2 separate regions of the Homo sapiens genome follow, and region 2 is linked to region 1. The links are contacts of gene promoters, found by promoter capture Hi-C in blood cells and fetal thymus (Javierre and others, 2016). All regions are on one chromosome and are shown on one strand. Each heading gives the region's core, a stretch centred on a gene start or on the middle of the fragment in contact. The rest is flanking DNA. Distances are from core to core; before and after follow the strand shown.

The links. Contacts are between HindIII fragments. The CHiCAGO score rates a contact against its expected background, and 5 or more counts as called.
Region 2: a contact is called between a fragment that was not itself captured here and the fragment with the promoter of GASK1A in region 1, in 1 of 17 cell types (non-activated CD4 T cells). The highest score is 6.6, in non-activated CD4 T cells.

The regions. Positions count from the first base shown.
Region 1 is chr3:42,977,961-42,981,383 of GRCh38, forward strand. GASK1A (golgi associated kinase 1A) reads left to right here and starts at 1,351. Exons shown (of 5, transcript NM_001129908.3): 1 at 1,351-1,685. The coding sequence starts at 1,683. The HindIII fragment of the contact is 11,487 bases long and covers 1-2,857 here.
Region 2 is chr3:43,519,444-43,522,801 of GRCh38, forward strand. All of the region lies in intron 11 of ANO10 (anoctamin 10), which reads right to left. Among named protein-coding and RNA genes, the nearest start is that of ANO10, 100 kb to the right of the region's middle. The HindIII fragment of the contact is 3,266 bases long and covers 190-3,358 here.

The DNA.
Region 1 (3,423 bases), core at 101-2,600:
GGTTTGTACTGTCCTCCACCCTCTTCCCTCATTTCCCAACCAGGGCTCAAACTCTCTGTCCTTTCAGTAGTCCATATGCACAGACAAGCTGCAGTTTGCAGTGCTACATCCTGCCTCCTGTTCCTGCCATATCAAGTCTTCCTCTTTGTTTCATGTTCTGGCAAATAGACTTGGATTTGCTAAACTGTTTACTGGCGATCTGGTCTCAGGAAAGTTACTTCACCTCCCTAATCCTGACTTTCCTAATTTGCAAAAGTTTTCCTTTTAGGATCGTTTGTGGTTATTAAATGAAATAATGTACAGAAAGCATCTGGAATGTTAAGGACCGAATACTTTCCCTTCATCTGTTCCTCCTGCCCATACACACATACACAATTTAAGGGGACTCTCTGGATCTTTGCTTCCCTTTAGAAGCACTGCCATCAGTGATAACCTCAGATCATTCTGGGGCAGGAGACTGCTGGGAAGATGCCTGTCTTCATCTAGCTAATGATGCTTCCTGTTAGTTTCAGTACTGGAGGCTAATTTTTCAGCCTGGCCCCCAAATTCTCTCAGAGCACCCTACTGCTGACTCTGCCTCGCCTCCATCCATTGTCTACAGGCTCTTAATAATCCTGGGGTCCAAACATTGGGCCACTGGGGGACACAAGTCATAAAGACGTCTGGGGACTGGTCGATGGTCATCCAGCTGTTAATAGTGGGGCTAGCCCTGATTTTGGGACTACAGAACCCCTAAGCCCAGGACATTCCCCAACGGGGAACGGATAGACTCTCAGGTCTTGCTCTGACTGTGCCTTTGTTGGCAGTAGGTGACTCAGGGGACACAAAGGCACTGTCTGTGCATCCAAAGCAGAGAGGTATCAGCCACTTACTTCAGTGACTTTAACAGTGATTAGTTCTCAAGGACAAAAACTCTTCATTGTTAATTAGCTTAGTGGTCAACGGATTTTCCTTCCAAATCCTCTTGGGGACTGAACCCAAACAAGGCGAAGAAGTGACAGTAAAAAAAGACTTGTCCTTCTGACAAGCGACAGTAAAGAAAAAGACTTGTCCTGCTTGGCAGGAGAGGGTGGCAGTTTGGGCAACACTCAGCCATATTGCTGAGTTGCAGCGAACTCACCAAGCACCCTCACACCTTAGAGGCGTCCCTCACCGTCCAGCCTTGGTGCATCACCCGTCAGGCGGGCAGTCAGGGCGTAGACCTTTCCTTCCTAGCACCTGGGCCCCTACTCCAGAAGACCAGAAGACTGCGGCTGGCCGAGCCCCCGGCAGGGCTTTTATTGTGAAGGGAGCTTCCCCCTCCCGCGCTTTCAGGGGAATGGGGAAGCTGGGCCGGGACGCGCGGCAGGGACTTTGCAAACTCTGCAAAAGTCCCGAGTAGACCGCAGAGGCTCGCGGCCGCGGGTAGGCTCCCTCAGATCCCCGTAGATCTCAGTAGATCCGGCGTGTATTCCCCACCCGCGGAGTATCCCGGTGTGCAGCGATCTCCCGAGAGTTGGCGCAGGGCCACTTGGCTGCAGAGAACGTGTGCACCTTCAGTCCGGGAAACCCGCCCCAGCCGAGTAGCCGCGCATCCTGGGAAGCCTGGCGAGCCACGGCGCCGGGGGCGGCCAAGGGGAGGCGGGATGAGTCTGCGAGCCGGCTGAGCGCGCCGAGGAGCCGGCCGGGGCACCGCCGGGGACATGGTAGGACTCGCGGGAAGGAACGCGCGAGCGGAGGGTGGGGCGATCACCAGGACAGGTGGCTGCAGTCAACGCGCAGCGGCCCAGGGCGCGCGCAGCCTGCGCGGCCTCCCGAGGCCGGAGTTGTTCCCCGAAAGTTGCATGGGGCGGCGGCGGCTTTCATTTCTGCACCAGAGCTGGGGGCGATCGGCTTTCCTGCCGCTCTTAGTGGGGCGGACCGTAATAAGGGGGCTTTTATTACTAATCTGCACTCCTTGACCTAACCGTAACCCACTCGCAACTCTGCAATCTTCATGCAATCCACAAGGCAGGGAGAGGGGAGCGTTCCCTGGGGAACCCACGGCAGCCTCTGATGAGATGCTTTTGAAGTCATTTTAATACTCTCCAAAGTTCATGTGAATTTTATACTATCTTCTCTAATTTAGCTATGTATTGATATTAAAAATAATGTCCTAACGTTTATTAACATTTAATAACTAAATTAACATTGAGTTAAATTGGCTCTAGTAAGGTTCCAATCCGCCTTCCTCTACCTCCCCGACAGGAGGACTGTTGGGCAGATGTGGAAGCACTGGTGGGTCTGGGATGTCACGATGAAACCAGGATCTTGTGGACGTGGCCCTTCCATTGATCAACTTCACAGACACTAACAGGCAGAAAAGAAAAACCCATCGAGAATGTGGCCCAGGCGGCTTAGCTAAAGGACACATGCAACCCCAGGAAAGGGGCGTCCCTCAGGCCCGGCCGCTGGTTAGTTGCTCTGCTTCTCCCGCAGCAGAAAACCCCTGCAACCCCAACTGGGCTCCTGCAGTTCACTGGGCTCCCCTGGCTGCTTCCGTGCCTGCTCGCCTCTTCCCTTTCCTTCCAAGCTCACAGAAGGCAGATCGGAACCCACTGGAGATGCTTTGTGGGGAGTTTTGCTGGGCCTGGGGTTTAGAAGGCTGTCTAGAGACTGCGCTGTAGGATGGAGGGTCTCTGTGAGAACAGCTCCTTTGTGTGCAGGGGGGCCTGGCAGGTGGCTGGAACAGAGGTGGAGGGCTGGTCATAAGGAGCTGGGGGCTCAGGGAAGGGTACCTTTGAGGCTAGGGGTGTGTGTATGTTTCACCCCTCCTAACACCTATCCAGCTTCAGGTTTTTTCTCAAAGCTGCTAAGAGAAGGAAATAGTGGAATCTTAAGCTTCAAAAGGGGGAATGATTGGGGGTACAGGATGTGAAACGAAAAGTGTGGAGATATCCTATTACAAATTCCCTGTTTAGGAGCAAGAGTGTTACCAGAACTCAGGCCACAGCCATCCACTCCGAGGGGCATTAGCATGCTGGAGTCTCCTGGCTTTAAAGGCAAATGTAGCAGAGGCTCTGTGGTCTGCGGCTGAAGCAGAGTGCCTGGAGGAGAGATGGTACCTGCCTTCTGCTCAGGCTGCCTAGGGGAACATTGGTGTGTTTGCCCCACTGCCAGCGTAAGCTTCCCGTTCTGTGAGTCATTGCAGCTTCCCGGTTTCACGTCCCTGGCTCTGGGTTCTGGTATTGTGTTAGGAAGAGGACTTGTGTCAACATTTCACTGTCTCAGGGTTCACTTGCAGAGAGAGGGGCCTGATGGTCATCCTCTGGCAGTGAAATGGCCTTGGAGATCTGAAGGCTGTCCTTTGCTTCTCCATCTGAATGAAGGGTCTTGAGGTCCAGAGACCACAGGGCAGCCTGGCACTGGCTAGAAGCAGCATGGGAGGAGACAGGGGGCTAGGAA
Region 2 (3,358 bases), core at 573-3,072, 540 kb after region 1:
GCAAATTTATTCTTGTGATCCTGCCACTGAGGGGAGAATCCTCTGGTTGCAATGGGGCACCGTCCAACTTTCTGATGTCCATTCCAGAGGATCTTTGATGGAATCTAATTCATACATTTGGTTTCATTTGGAGCCATTACTTGTTTGCTTGTTTGTCCTCCTATAAGGTAGTGTTCACTCATTTTCAAAAGCTTCATCCAACTAGCCTCTACATCAAGTATGAGAACCATGCTTATCCCTTCACTCATATGAGGGCAGACCAGAGATCAGGAGAGATCATCATGGTCTCGGGCCAGGATCATGCTGATACACAGGTAGGTTACAAGATCACGGGGCATATTTTTTGCAAGCAAGATTGCTGTGAAGTTAACTTTGTTGGCTGAACTTTACATTTTTCTTATGTCCAAGGAAAAGAAGTGTTATTTGTCTTGTTTCTTTTCAGTTCTTGTAACTGTAGGGCTTAATGAGGGAGAGCTAATACAGGACAGAATTTCAGAATGTAGAGGTCCACAGGAATAACCAATGGCAACCTCCTTGTAGCAGAGATGGCTATCTATTCACCTAAATCATCTCCTCTTTATTCTGGGCACAGAGCTGGACCACATTTCCCAGCTTCCCAGTGACCATATGGTCTCCTGATACCCACATGGCTGACTTCCACAACCAGTGAAATGTGAGTTGGAGTTATATGTGCCCCTTCCTGGCCTGGTCCATACAACTTTCCTTCTTGCCATCTTCCATATCCTCCTCCCCAGCTCTTACTTTTAGGTCATTAATCCAGTTTTAGTTGATTTTTGTATATAGTGTATGTTAGTCTATTCAGGCTGCTATAAACAAAATGCCATATACTTGATAGCTTATAAACAACAGAAATTTATTTCTCACAGTACCAGAGGCTGGGAAGTCCAAGATTAAGGTGCTGGCAAATTTGGTGTCTGATAATTAACACAACACTGGTGATTAGGTTTCAACATATGAATTTTAGGGGGATAGAAACAGACCACAGCATGGAGTCCAAACTTCATCCTTTTACATGTGGATATCCAGCTGTTTGCACCATTTGTTGAAAAGACTATTCTTCCCCCAATGAATTGTCGTGGAACTCTTGTTGAAAATCAATTGACCATAAAATGTGAAGGTTGATTTCTGGCCTCTCAATTTGAGTACACTGATCTACATGTACATTCTTTTTATTTATTTATTATTTTACTACATGGGCATTCTTATGCTACTATGATTACTGTAGTTTTGAAATTTGGAAATGTGAGTGCGTGTACTATTTTCTTTATTTCAAGATTGTTTTAGCTATTCTGGGTTCCTTGCATTTCCATATGAATTATAGGATCAACTTGTAATTTTTGAAAATAAGTCAGCTAGGATTTAAAATAGGGATTGTGTTGGATCTATAGATCAATTGGAGAAGTACTACCATGTTAATATTTAGTCTTCCATTTTTTTCTTTTTGATGCTACAATAAATGGAATTGTGTTCTTAATTTCATATTTAGTCTGCTTATTGCTAATGTATAGAAATACAATTCATTTTTGTACATTGTTCTTGTCTCTTGTAACCTGAACTCATTTATTCGTCTGAATTGTTTTTAATGGATTCCTTAGGATTTTCTATTTACAAGAGCACATCACCTGCAAAGAGAAATAGTTTTACTTCTTCCTTTCCAATCGACATGCATTTTATTTTCTTATCTACTTCCCTTGGCTAGAACTTCCTGGACAATGCTAAATAAAACTGGTAAGTGGTAAGGGGAGGTACCCTTTTTCTTGTTCCCAATCTTAGAGAAAAAGAAAACATTCAGCCTTTTACCATTAAGTATGATGTTAACTGCAGGTTTTGCACACACATCACTTATCAGGTTGAAAACAAGGCATAAATTTTAAAATGCTGCTGTCAAGCCTTTAATGGTATTTACAGGGAAGCCTTATGTTTGAGAGCTGAGTCTGGCCATAAAATGATAAATAGTAGAGAACCCCAATCTCTTACTTCTAGGAAAAATGATAATCACAGAAATGGAACTTTACTTAACTGATCAAGATGCTCTTGAGACAAATGATATAGTTGAGATGCTCCAGACATATGAAAAGATGCTCAACATCAGTAATCACTGGGGAAATGCAAATCAAAACCACAAGGAGGTACTACTTCACATCCACTAGGTTAGCTATAATTTAGAAAATGGAAAATGAAGTGTTGACGAGAATATGGAGAAACTGAAACCCTCGTACGTTGCTGATGGGAAAGCAAAATGGCACAGCTGCTACGGAAAACAGTTTGGAAGTTTCTCAAAAAATTAAACACAGAATTATCATATGACCCAGTGATTCTACTCCTGGGTATATACTCACAAGAATTGAAAGCAGGGACTCAGATATTTGTATGCCAATATTCACTGCAGTATTATTTACATTTGTACTAAAATAGCCAAAAGGTGGAAATAACCCAAGAGTCCATCAACAGAAGAATGAATTCAGTATATGCATACAATGACATATTATTTAGCCATAAAAAGGAATGAGGTTCTGATACATACTATAACATGGGTAAGACTTAAAAACATAATGCTAAGTGAAATAAGCCAGACACAAAGGGACAAATAAATGTATTATTTTCTTTACATGAAATGTCTAGAACAGGCAACATCACAGAGACAGAAAGTAAAGCAGAAGTTGCCAGGGACTAGGGGAAGGGGGAAATGGAGAGTCATTGCCTGCTGCGTACAGAATTTCTGTTTGGGGTAATGAAAAAGTTTTGGAAATTGATAGTGGTGATGACTGCACAATGCTGTGACTATAATTAATGTGACTAAATTACACACTCAATATAATTAAAATTGCAAATTATGTTATTATATTTTACCATGATAAAAAAATACATTAAAAAAAAGCTCTACAGCTATTTCTGCATCTACACTTTCACCATTCTTTATGATCATAGCAATATTCTGGTGTTCTTTTCTAGGAAAACCCTGTGACTTTCATCATGTCATTGCATATATAGCACAAGATCCTCCTAAGTCTTGTGACTATTCATTTACCTACAAACCAAGAGCTTCATACAACTTTATGCATTAGGGATCTGTCATTTCACTGCAGTTTAATATAGACAACTGTGTTCTGCTCTCTGTCTTTGAAAGTATTGATGCTGGAAATGTAACTGAATCAAGCAGGGTTTTTACTTGCAAGCCACAAATACCAATTCTGGTGTATCTGGGCAAAGAAGAGGTTGGTTAAAAGGTTATCAGGTAGTTCACGTACCCTCTAAAAGGTCTAAAGAACCAGGCTGAGCAGTCATACAGTGAGGAGCAATGTCCAAAGTCATATCTAGAGCTGGTTCAGCAATGATG